Linked DNA regions of Homo sapiens: all the other regions are linked to region 1. Evidence: promoter capture Hi-C in 16 types of primary human blood cells and fetal thymus (Javierre and others, 2016). All regions are on one chromosome and are shown on one strand. Each heading gives the region's core, a stretch centred on a gene start or on the middle of the fragment in contact. The rest is flanking DNA. Distances are from core to core; before and after follow the strand shown.

Evidence for each region. The method cuts DNA at HindIII sites, captures the fragments that hold promoters and counts their contacts. A CHiCAGO score of 5 or more calls a contact.
Region 2: a fragment that was not itself captured here is called in contact with the fragment with the promoter of OR4C5 in region 1 in 7 of 17 cell types (M1 macrophages, monocytes, erythroblasts and 4 more); the score reaches 8.7 in M1 macrophages.
Region 3: a contact is called between a fragment that was not itself captured here and the fragment with the promoter of OR4C5 in region 1, in 5 of 17 cell types (M0 macrophages, M2 macrophages, erythroblasts and 2 more). The highest score is 10.0, in M0 macrophages.
Region 4: a fragment that was not itself captured here is called in contact with the fragment with the promoter of OR4C5 in region 1 in 8 of 17 cell types (endothelial precursors, erythroblasts, M0 macrophages and 5 more); the score reaches 11.1 in endothelial precursors.

The regions. Positions count from the first base shown.
Region 1 is chr11:48,365,043-48,368,171 of GRCh38, reverse strand. It overlaps OR4C5 (olfactory receptor family 4 subfamily C member 5), which reads left to right and starts at 1,707. Exons shown (of 1, transcript NM_001348223.2): 1 at 1,707-2,687. The coding sequence starts at 1,707. The coding sequence ends at 2,687. The HindIII fragment of the contact is 2,303 bases long and covers 693-2,995 here.
Region 2 is chr11:49,930,492-49,933,620 of GRCh38, reverse strand. No RefSeq gene overlaps it. Among named protein-coding and RNA genes, the nearest start is that of OR4C13, 20 kb to the left of the region's middle. The HindIII fragment of the contact is 1,925 bases long and covers 535-2,459 here.
Region 3 is chr11:49,913,521-49,916,649 of GRCh38, reverse strand. It overlaps the pseudogene OR4A49P. Among named protein-coding and RNA genes, the nearest start is that of OR4C13, 37 kb to the left of the region's middle. The HindIII fragment of the contact is 5,755 bases long and covers 1-3,129 here.
Region 4 is chr11:49,894,213-49,897,341 of GRCh38, reverse strand. It overlaps the pseudogene ANKRD33BP5. Among named protein-coding and RNA genes, the nearest start is that of OR4C13, 57 kb to the left of the region's middle. The HindIII fragment of the contact is 2,126 bases long and covers 360-2,485 here.

The DNA of each region.
Region 1 (3,129 bases), core at 458-2,957:
GTTGTCATACTTGTTGCAATTATTTTTCCAAGGTGTTCCATACCTTTATGTAGCTGAGCTCATCAGTTTTGTTTTGTATCTTATACCATTATATTTTTATTTTAAAATATCCTTTCTTAGCTACAGATGAAATATATATTGATTTTTTTTTTGGTTTTGAAAAGATCTATGTTTTACCTGAAGTCTTTAATACATGCTATTCTTTTTTCTCTTTTTCTTTGGTTCTTTTTTTTCTTTTTTTGATGATTCCATTAAGAAGAGACTTATTTCGTTTTGAAAAACACCTATCTAGTTATTTTAAAATCTTTTATGAGCTACACATAATACCTTTCTAAATATTATTCACAAATAATATCCTTTGGTGGTATTACCATATTTGTTTCTTATTGAGCTCATTTCTATTCTTCAGTTTTCTTTGTATTTTTAAAATATCAAAAAGCTTTTTAATTTAGTTATCAAGTCTAATTTTTTATTGCCTGATGTCTTTCTGTGTTACACCTTTTTTTCTGAATATAATTGCTTGTTATTTACCTTGAGTTGAGTACTGAGTTCATTTATTTTCTCTCTTAATATTACAATGATAAATAACTTAAAGATAAAAATAATTATATGCAAAATTTTGTTTACTTGTGTTCTTTATCAAGATGTGGAGTACATGGTAAGCTATAGGTTTACCTTTAGGATACAAAGCTTGATATATTTAATCATGATATTCTTTAGTTCCTCCATTCCATTTGTTATTTTTCCCATTTTATATATGAAAAAGTTTAGGCACAATGAGACTAAGATCTGTACACAATATCATGTGGCTAATAGTCAGTGAAGATAAAATGTAAAAATTAGGCATCTGATTCTAAAAAACACTCTGTCCAATAAATTATGGTGCTTTTTTTCCCTCACCTTAAAATTATGTTTTCTAAACAGATCCATATAATTTTTCATAGTCATCCTTAAATTGGGTTTTGATTTGCAAAATGCCCTGAATTCTAAACATGACAGTTCTCCAAGTGAATTCTAAAGTTTCAGATACATCTGGGGAATGCTGCCTTGCATCATGCTGTTTTATCCTCTTCCAGGATATGCTTCCAGAAGTGTTTGATTGTATTCTTAGACAATTCTGTTTGGATGTGGCATAAATTCTCAAATCTAACTGCCATGGAGTATCTTACTGCAGCCTCAAACATTCACTCAGTTCAGTTGATTCTGAAATGTGGTGGCATCATCCTTAATTTCAAAGTGAACTCACCTGATGTTTTATAGTTACCCTGAAACAAGTTAAAAATAACCAGAATAACAAACTCTGCACCGTAGCCTCATGAACATGAGTGGTTAAAAAAAAAAAAAAAACGAAAAAAAAAAGAAACTAGGAAATTGACAGGAATTCAAGCCTCTGCTCCTCCTCTTTTTACTGCTGTTTTTCTATGGGGAAAAAAATGCTGTAAGGGTGATTGAGAGAATATCCATCCATGTACAATCATAGGAAAAATGCCTGACATGTCAACATCATAAAATCATGTTTGTGTACATAAATGAATGTGTGTATGTGTTTTTCTGTGTCTGTGTGTGTCTCTGTATGAGAGAGAAGAGGTATCTGTGTTCATTATGTCATGAATAACATAGCTCAACTTAGTCTTGGGTTTATAGATTTAGGGATTCCATCAGTGTTACAGAAAATAATCCTGACCAAAATTATTTTATTGTTCAAAATGTATGTGTCAAATTGCAATCCTTGTGCTATTCACAGAAAAATCAATTATCCAAATACCAAACTGGATTTCGAGCAAGTGAACAACATAACGGAATTCATCTTGCTTGGCCTGACACAGAACGCAGAGGCACAGAAACTCTTGTTTGCTGTGTTTACACTCATCTACTTTCTCACCATGGTAGACAACCTAATCATTGTGGTGACAATCACCACCAGCCCAGCCCTGGACTCCCCCGTGTATTTTTTTCTGTCTTTCTTTTCCTTCATAGATGGCTGCTCCTCTTCTACCATGGCCCCCAAAATGATATTTGACTTACTCACTGAAAAGAAAACTATTTCCTTCAGTGGGTGCATGACCCAGCTCTTTGTAGAACATTTCTTTGGGGGAGTTGAGATCATTCTGCTCGTGGTGATGGCCTATGACTGCTATGTGGCCATCTGCAAGCCCCTGTACTACCTGATCACAATGAACAGGCAGGTATGTGGCCTCCTGGTGGCCATGGCATGGGTCGGGGGATTTCTTCACGCTCTGATTCAAATGCTTTTAATAGTCTGGCTGCCCTTCTGTGGCCCCAATGTCATTGACCATTTCATCTGTGACCTTTTCCCTCTGCTAAAACTCTCCTGCACTGACACTCACGTCTTTGGACTCTTTGTTGCCGCCAACAGTGGGCTGATGTGTATGCTCATTTTTTCTATTCTTATTACCTCTTACGTCCTAATCCTCTGCTCACAGCGGAAGGCTCTCTCTACCTGCGCCTTCCATATCACTGTAGTCGTCCTATTCTTTGTTCCCTGTATATTGGTGTACCTTCGACCCATGATCACCTTCCCTATTGATAAAGCTGTGTCTGTGTTTTATACTGTGGTAACACCCATGTTAAACCCTTTAATCTACACCCTCAGAAACACAGAGGTGAAAAATGCCATGAAGCAGCTCTGGAGCCAAATAATCTGGGGTAACAATTTGTGTGATTAGAGAAGATAAACACAGAACCTACTCATATTTTAACAACAGGTATGACTAATGAAAAGGGTAAAGGTCTTGAGGTCAGAATAGTGAGTTTAAGTATATTTTATTCCCCTCATTTTCTGGAATCTTTAATGATGCCTTTTCATAAAAGATCAATATCTGATTAAATGATGACTAATGTTTCTGCCAATTTGAAACTTCTTCACATTTACAAATTATTAATCAGGGGGACATTGCTAGTCAACATAAAAATGTTACAGTGTATGGAAAACCCATGAGTTTATGTGTTTAGTAGAATAATTATCTGCAAAGCTTCGGTATAGAGTATATAACTAACAGGCCAAATAATTAAAATAAACAAAAAGACCTAATGGCTAAATCTTTTGTTGAAAATGCATAGTTTTAATCCCAACTAATAAAATCGAAGTAGAACTATTATTGTGAGAGA
Region 2 (3,129 bases), core at 248-2,747, 1.6 Mb before region 1:
TAGTAGAGACGGGGTTTCTCCATGTTGGTCAGACTGATCTCAAACTCCCGACCTCAGCTGATCTGCCTGCCTCAGCCTCTCAAAGTGCTGGAACTACAGGCATGAGCCTCCGTGCCCGGCCTTAATTTGTTAATTAGAGCTTTGTAGTTTTTCTCACTTGTACACAATTTTGTTAGATTTTTACCTAAGTTTTTCATTTTATTGGATTGCTAAATAAATGATATTGTGTTTTGAATTTTAGATTATACTTGTTCATTGCTGGTATATAGAAAAGTGATTGACTTTTGTATATTAACCTTGATCCTACCACTCTGTTCTAATTATTAGTTCCAGTATTTTTTTGTTGATTTAGAAAAAATTTCTACATAGATGGTCATGTCATCTATAGACATTGACAGTTTTATTTCTTCCTATCAGTATACTTTTTATTCTTTATCTTGTCTTATTACATTAGCTAGGACTGCCAGAACAATGTTGACAAGAAGTGATGAGAAGAGACATTCTTGCCGTTTTCCCGATCTTAGTAGGAAAGCTTCAAGTTTCTCACCATTAAGTGTGATGCTAGCTGTAGATTCTTACTTTACAGTTTTTTTTTAGAATCATAAATAGGTGTTAGATTTTTTTTCAGAATCATAAATAGGTGTTAGATTTTTTCAAATGCTTTTTCTGCATCTATTAATATGGTAATTTGATTTTTTCTCTTTAACATTCGAGGCAATGGATTATGCCAATTGATTTTTGAATGTTGATCCCACCGTGCATACTAAATTGTACACCAGGATCTACTGAGATTTAGTCCGGGTATGCAGGGTGGAATCAACATTCAAAAGTACCTGGACTAAATCTCCATTGATCCTGGTGTACAATTATCTTTACATATTGTTGAACTTAATCTGCTAATATTTTGTTGAGGATTTTGCATCTATATTAATAAGAGATATTAGTCTGAAGTTTTCTTTTGTTGTAATGTCTTTGTTCTTGGGAGTAGGGTATGGCTGGCTTCATTGAATGAGTTAGGAAGTCTTCTTTCCTCTTCTATTTTCTAAAAGAAATTTAGAGAACTGGTATAATATCTTCCTTAAATATTTGGTAGAATTTACCAGTGAACCTGTCTGACCTGGTGCTTTCTGCTTTGGAAGGTGCTATGTACTTAATGTTTGTGTCAACCCAAAATTCATGTATTAAAATTCTAACTCCCTATGTGATGGTATTAGGAGGTGGAGCCTCTGAGAGGCCATCAGGGTGGAGCCCTGATAAATGGGATTAGTGCCCTTATAAGAGGCCCTTAGAGAAGGCTATGATTGAGTATTTCATTTACTCCAAGTAGGTTAGGCTCTAATAAAACCCCAGCAAGTTAGGGTGTGGCTAACAATAGGTTCTTCTGAGGGCCAGCCTTGTTAAGAAGAACAGAATACTGTGGATATTTAAAAATGTTTTTCCCCATCTCCAGGAAGATGAATTTATCACTTATTTCCCTACTTTGCCATAGCAATTATTTTCCTTTTATCTAATACTTGATTTTTTTCCCATTAGTGTGGGTTTGGATATATTTTGTAAAAAGTTTATTTAACATGTGGACAGGTCTTTTCCTAACATCTTCTGTGAGTATCAGGTAGGGATCATGAAGTTAAAACTCACAAAAGGTGAGAGACCCTCTGCCCTGCCCCACCTTGACTGATTCCCCTAGAGTTTTTATTTTTCAGCCTTCTCCATTAAGAAGTTCATCAATTAAGTTCAGGTTTTTCCTACCTATATCTACCCTCCTTGGCACAGGTTCTTGTGGGGTTTCTGCTTGTGGGTTTCTGCTCAGGGAAGGTGTGATTCTCTCTATCTGCCTGTCTATCTCTGCAATTTTGAGGGCAGCAGTTTGCGCTGTGAGCTCACTTCTGTGATGGATTTAAGATGAATTGTTGATATTTTAGTTTGTTCAGCTTTTTACTTGTTGTTAGGGTACAGTGGTGACTTCTAAGCTCTTTACATGCTAGACTATAAGTCCCCATTACTTTCTTTTAAAAAGAACTTTAAATGAAATACAAATTCCTTACCAAGATCTATACTGCCCTGCAGGGCTTGGCTTCTGTCCATCCCTTCAACCTCAGTTTGTTCTGTCCATTCTCTTTTCCTTTTCCTTTCAGGCACTAAGACCTTCTGTTGACTTGCACTTGCTCAGCTCTTTAAATATTGGAGCTTTCCACATGTAACAATATTTTCCATGGAGCAATATTTTTTCCTTTGGACCTCAGCTAAGTATCACCATTTAAAAAGACCTCTGATTACCTTCTTTACAGTAATATCTCACTTTTATTTTTCATAACAATACACAGTATTTTAAATACTGATCATAGATTATAATTTATTAAATTGTTTCCTTACTTTCTTAGAAGATATAAAGTTAATGTAGGCAGGACTTTTATGCTGTTGTTTTTTTTTCTGTTTCATTAACTATTGTATCTTAAGCTTATGGCATAGAACTTGGCATGAAAAGGATACTCATAACAATTTTTTAGAATAATAAATGCATAGATAAATAGTTATTACAACTAAATAAAATATTTTAAAAACATATCCAAACCCACACTTGTAGGCAGAAAAAATGGAAATTAGATAAAAGGAAAAAAGCCTGCTATTGCAAAGTGGTGAAAATATGATAAATTAATCTTCTAAGTGGCTAGGCTGATATTTTATTCTTCTTTGGCAATCCTACTATAATGGTTGTTTTTTCTTCCCTTGTTACATCTTTCTGACCCTAGTTATGTGATTGATCTGACAATATCTCTACATGCAAATGTTCTTTAAAAATATGGGGAAAATCCCGGTGAACTTAATTAAGCAAAAATCAGTCTTGAACAGAATCCAATTCCAAAACTCCATGATTAATGTGCTTATAAGGTACAAAGTCTTCAATAATATTTGCCCCTGTCAGGTAGAAGATACTATCATCCTTTTAAGGGCTAATTATTTCAGAAGATGTTTTATTAGGTTTACCACATGATATAAAAAAGGCACAAGAATTTCCTCCTCAAGGACACCCAGGAATTGATCTGAGCTCTACACCAAGTGGATCTAACAGACATCTACAGAACTCTCCACCCCAAATCAACAGAATATACATTTTTTTCAGCACCACAC
Region 3 (3,129 bases), core at 423-2,922, 1.5 Mb before region 1:
GGAAGAATAAGATCATGATAGGGCAACTATAGTTTATAATTAATTGTTTTAAATATCTGCATTCCATATTTTTTTGTTTGTTTAGTGCCATTATAAATAGTGTCACAAAACATGCCATGCTTCTGTCCTTATGTTCTAGGGCTCTAATTTCTATGGGATAGCTTTTGAAGGGGCAATTGTTTGAAAGATATTTTTACTTTCATTAGAGATTGCTAACTTTTGTTCCAAAAATTATAAAATTCATATTTTCACTATCAGTGTAAGAAAATACCCTTTTTATTTTTGCTAGCTATAGCTACTATCACTTTTAGAATGTTTTTGTCAGTTTGATGAATATAAGGTGATATTTGTTTTTTATTTTGTATTTTTCTATTTATAGGTGAACTTCAGCACCCTATTATATTTGGCCATTTGAATGTACTGGTTTTTTTAAATTGCTGGTTTCTATCATTTGCCCAGTTTGCTATTGGTTTGTCTTTTATTTATTAATTGCTTAGAGCACTCTGTCTATTTTAAATATTAACTCTGTGTCCTCAAAATTGTAAATATTTTTAAATGGTATCTTTTCCCAAATTCTTAAACAATTTTGAAATTGTCGAATATGTTTATTTTGGATTTCAATTATTAGTTAAGAAGATTCTCCCATCCAGAGAATGTAGAAAGTCATCTCCTTTATTAACTGGAAAGTAAATATAAAGTAAATCTAGCTTTAGTTTTATATTAAATCTTTAATTCATTTGTATTTATTTTTGTTTATGGTATTAGCTATATGTATAATTTTATGATCGTCCAGATGTAAAACTAGTTTTGGCAAACTCATTTATTTAATAAACTTCCTTTTCCCATATACATCCCAAATTACTTATTTCTCTCTCCATTAATTTGTAAGATTGCTGAGGTTGGGGACCATGCTTTAATCAGCCTTATATTCTTATAATGTCTTGCAATTCTGGAACATAATAACTCATAGCACCTATTTGTTGAATGAATAAACAAATTATCCTAAAATTTCATGAAGTTACTAGTAATAATTATATTTTTAGGTAATTTTGTCCTGAACACTGGAATAAGGACATACAAAAAGACATACGGAACAAAAGAAAAATATGACAGAGTTTGTCCTTGTGGGGCTCACTCAGAGCCCCCAGAGACAGAAAATATTATTTGTTGTGTTCTTGCTCATCTACCTTGTGACAATGGTAGGTGACATACTCATTGTTGTAACTGTGGTGGTCAGCCCAACTTTGGATGCCCCTATGTACTTCTTCCTTGGGTACTTATCATTAATGGATGCTGTTTAGTCCTCAGGTGAAGCAGCTTGTTTTGGTTCCATATTTATATAAAAATGATCCATTGATCTTCCCAGATGTTTAGAATATCTGATAATACCTCTGCTATTTTCAATACCCCCTTCTCATGGCCTTCTAAAAAACAGCCAGGCTCTGCTTTTTATATGTAAAATCAGCATAATCCATAATCTATGAACTTCAAATATGCAATGCAGAGCCTGATAGCAAATATTTTGGAATACACCATTGTCACAAAAGATAGACAGGTGTGGTGGTGCATGTCTGTGGTTCCAGCTGCTCAGGAGGCTGAGGTTGGAGGAGTTTTTGAGCCCAGGAGGTCAAGACTGCAGTGAACCGTGATCATGCTACTGCACTCTAATGTGGGTGACAGAGTAAGACTGAGAAAAAAAAAGAAAGAAAAAAAAAAGAAAGATGCTGGCAATATATGATGCTTCCATTCTTTCTTTATTGATAGAATGCAGATTATTAGGTAAAAAACGGACTAAAACATATGTTTCATTGGAAAGACACTTCATTCATAAAAATCTGTGTGAAAATTTCTTTTGAATCAGGCTTGAAATAAAATTTTATCTGCCCCTGACTACAGGTAGAAAACATGTAATCAAAGAAACTCATTGTTCCTGCTTCTCCTCTGTAGTCCGGATTCATGAGGGACTAAGGCTAGGGAAAAACATAAGTCAATTTCCCTGGTAAATCACACTATATGAGTTCACTTTGTATTATTATTTTTATCCTTATTATTATTACATGGAGATTTCTTATATCATCCAAGCTCTTCCAAAACATAGCACCATTCTCCAAATAGTATTGAGCATTTGGTAGTTTATAAAACTAGGTCCTGCATTTTTGGACATGTAATTAATTTTCCAATTTGTACGGTTCTATTGAGTGATGTAATAAAAAAAATCTTGGTTAATTGTCTGTTTATGTTTATTGGTCGGAAATTTCCCTGAAGTCAGGGAAAGTTACTTCTCTTTGTGCTCTCTGTTCCTTGCACAATGTCTGACACATAGAGCCTACTCCATAAACTTTGTTAATTACTTGTTTCCTTGAATTCTTAATCTATTGGAGTCAGAAATTTTACTGATACATTCTGATAAAGTTTTTCTGTATCAAAAATGTATGTATGTTCATTCCATTCTTTGATATTTGCTATAAATATTTACTTTACTATGTTATTGATGCTACAATTATGGATGTTTTTATACAGAAATGTTTTATCTTAACTTTTTTACTTCTTATTTTTTCTGTCATATGACACCTCAGTAAATTCCATTTCCCTCTAGTGACTTTATACATTTTAACACCTTATTTTATTTACTTACTTTTCTTTTCAGATTTTGTTTTAGAATCAGGAGGCACATGTGCAGGTTTGTTACAAAGGTATGTTGGATGATGCTGAGGTTTGGAGTATGATTGCACCCCTGCCCAGGTAGCGAGCATGGTACCCAGCAGGTAGTTTTTCAGCCCTTGCCCACCTCCCTCTCTCCTGCCTCTAGTCATCCCCATTAAAAAAATTACGAAAACATTTGTTTTCCAGCCAACGGAAAATTTATTTTTCTTGATCATAAGAAAATATTGAAGTCTAGTTTTCCTAAACAGGTAAAATAATCTGCCAATCTAATCCATTAATTATTTCCTTTTTTTTAATGCTCAGAAAAATAGTCACATTTATTAAATTCTTTCATAGGTAGTCAGACTTGGTGATATATGTTATGAATGAATATATAATTATTTTTTATTTTTTAATTTTATTATTATTATACTTTAAGTTTTAGGGTACATGTGCACATTGTGCAGGTTTGTTACATATGTATAC
Region 4 (3,129 bases), core at 173-2,672, 1.5 Mb before region 1:
GGTATCAAAACAGATACATAGACCAATGGAACAGAACAGGGGCCTCAGAAATGACACCACACATCTGCAAGCATCTAATCTTCCACAGTTCTGTAGACAACTGGGCTTTAAGGTTATTGGGTTCCAATGGCATTGTGTGAGTAACTTCCCATTATAAATCTCCTGGAGTCATTGTCATTTCTTTTGTGTTACCATATACAGATGGTATATTTGGTAAGGTTTGTAAAATGTCTCTGATGGTCATGAATGATGTTGTTCCAAGGAACTTGCCTGATGAGTCCAAACTCTGTATTTTGGCTAGACAGATCAATTACACTAGACTAGTGTTATTTACTGTCATTCCCATAGTCCTCCAAGCTTCTTCTGGGGAATCAACTATTATGATGCTATCAATGAATTAATTAATCAAATTAAAATGAATTTATTTTTATTATATTCGTGTATAAATTTTATTTCACCAAATTATGGCTGTATGCTAAGTATATATCTGTGGGGAAAAATGATAAACTTATTTTGCCTTTTTTTCTGCATAAAACTGAGCTATTCATGATATTTCTTTGATTCTAAATGTTTATCTGGAAGTATAAAGATATGGATATTGCAATTAAATTTTGAAAGAATAATGTGCTATTCTAGATAAGACAGATTAAAACGTTATATTGATAAAAAGGCAGTACTGTTTCAAATATATACATATGTAAATAAATAATAGGACTTACACATTACTTCAGTTTCCTATATATATTTAAATTGAGGATGTTTCATTTAAGATGTTTTTGTTACATATGATAGAAAACTCAATTCAAACTATCTTGAAATATAAGGATATTTACTTATTGGCTAACATAAGTGTAAAATTCAATCTTATGTCCAGCTTCATGGTAAGAGGATGAAATTATTTAATGAAAGAGTGTTTTTCTTTGCTCACTGCACTGTATCCTGTGTGTCACATATTGGATTTCATCTGGCTCTCCTATCACAAGAAGAATTGCTATCTGTAGCCATTGAGAGAAGGTTCTTTTTTCAACGTTAGCCAAGGTAATTGACCTGATTATGATGTGGAATGGAGGTGTTATAACACAGTGGTGGTAAGCAATGATATTTTTGTCTTCCAGGTGACTGACAGGGGCACATCTTGCCATGCCCTTTCTAATTGTGATAATAAGTGAGAATAGAAAAGAATCAGGTTCTGAATGATTATAGTGTACCAGGATGAGATATTTTGGAGATGAAGGTCTAAGCTACACCTTTAAGTAAGTCATGAGACCAGTAGCGGTGCTAGTAAAAGGTGAAGTGGGAGAAATAGAATTGACAATAAAGGAATAAGATGGTACATAGCAGTTGCAACTCTATGATCAGCCATGGTGGCAAGAGACAATATTTGTCCCTTAACCTTTCTCTTTTAATTTTCCCCCAGGAAGAGAATCTTAAAGAAGCTGTTCTCAAGTGTATATGAAGAAATGGATTCAAGTGACATAATAGGTAGGCTGTGATAGATAAAAGGATGTACTTCCTTGCCCTTCCTTTAGGAAAGAAGGATATATATTTCCAGTTGCTGGGCACGCTGTTCACAGACAACTTTCAGATATTAGCCCTTTCAATATCTGTAGAAGTTGCAGAAAGCCACCTCACCAAAGGCCTCATGTCCTTTCCCAGAAAATTCCCTTTTTGCAACTAGATCAATATTTAGGTGTCACTGGAGTGCAAGTGATAAATATTGCCTTGTTCTACAAGGAAATATTTCATTTGACTAACAAATTGTGAATATCAAATATGCACTGACAAGAATTGGAGGAACGTATGTAAAGGCATCTTGTGGATATCGGAACAAAAAAGGCAAAATAGATGGCTGCATGGGGGAATGTTTATTAGCATTGGGTTAATTTCTCAGAATATATGTGGCATAGGTATGTGATGACTAAAACTTACTGAGCACATATTGTGTGTCAAACATGTGGAAATGAGCATTTCACATTCTCAGGTTAGGATTGTCCAGCTGGCACCGTAACTCATCTTTTAGGAGGCCATTCCAATGTCTCATTTGTTCAGCTTCTAGATGATGACAATTGTGGTTATACCAGTAAATTCTATTGTGATGAGTTATATGTTTTAAATTTATTTACTAAAAATTTTCTTCTGGATAGATAATGAATGAGATACCATGGCAATGGATAACAGATTCTACTCCGTGAATAATAAATAAGGCAAGTGCTAGGAAAAATATGTAACCAGAATATATGATGAAAAAATGCTGTCCTCTCCAGACTGAGGAGTTGGAATGAAGTAAGCTGTCACAAGGTTGTTGGCTGGTTTCCCTAGCTACTTGTACCATGTTAAAGAGTCAATGATGGACATTGCTGATGGCATTTTAGACCTTGTGGCTTTGTAGAGTATTCATCTCTGCAACAGTGACTACAAAGGTAACTGAGAAAAAGGCTGACTGACATCCAAAATGCAGTTCATGTTCATGAGATTCCTGGAAGCTTCTTCTGCAGTAGATTCTTTTTGTTGGGCATTTATGTTGTAAACTAACATTGTAGTATTTGGTGTTCCTTTTGAGAGATTCATCCACATATGGTTCTTCCAACTACTTTGTCATCATTTTTCCATTTTTAAATTTCCAATTTCCTCATTAGCTTATTAAACCTGTTAGCCAGTGTCCATTTTCAGTGTAGATCCATAAGTATGGTTATTATTCCTTCCACATACAGCGGAAAACAAGACTGACCGCTCAAAATACTGCCTTCTGGGAGGCTTTTCCTTCAATCTCGTGCTTCCAGACCACCTTCTGCAGACAGTGCAGCATTTGCAGAGTTTTGTCTGTTTTTGCTGTTCCATGCAGGTTGGTTACTCCTTTTGTTGTCATCTTTAAAACATTGTTTTTTATTTTCTATAGCTTTATTGAGGTGTATGTGACAAAAATCTATAATATATATTTAAGTTGTACAGTGTGATATTTTGGTAAATATATACATTGTGAAATGATTACCACAATCAACACGTTCAGCATCTCACATAATTACCTTTTGTGTGTGGTGAGAATATTTAAGATGCATTTTCTCAGCAAACTTCAAGTATACAATATGGTATTACCAAGTATAGACTCTATGCTGTAACTTAGTTCTCCAG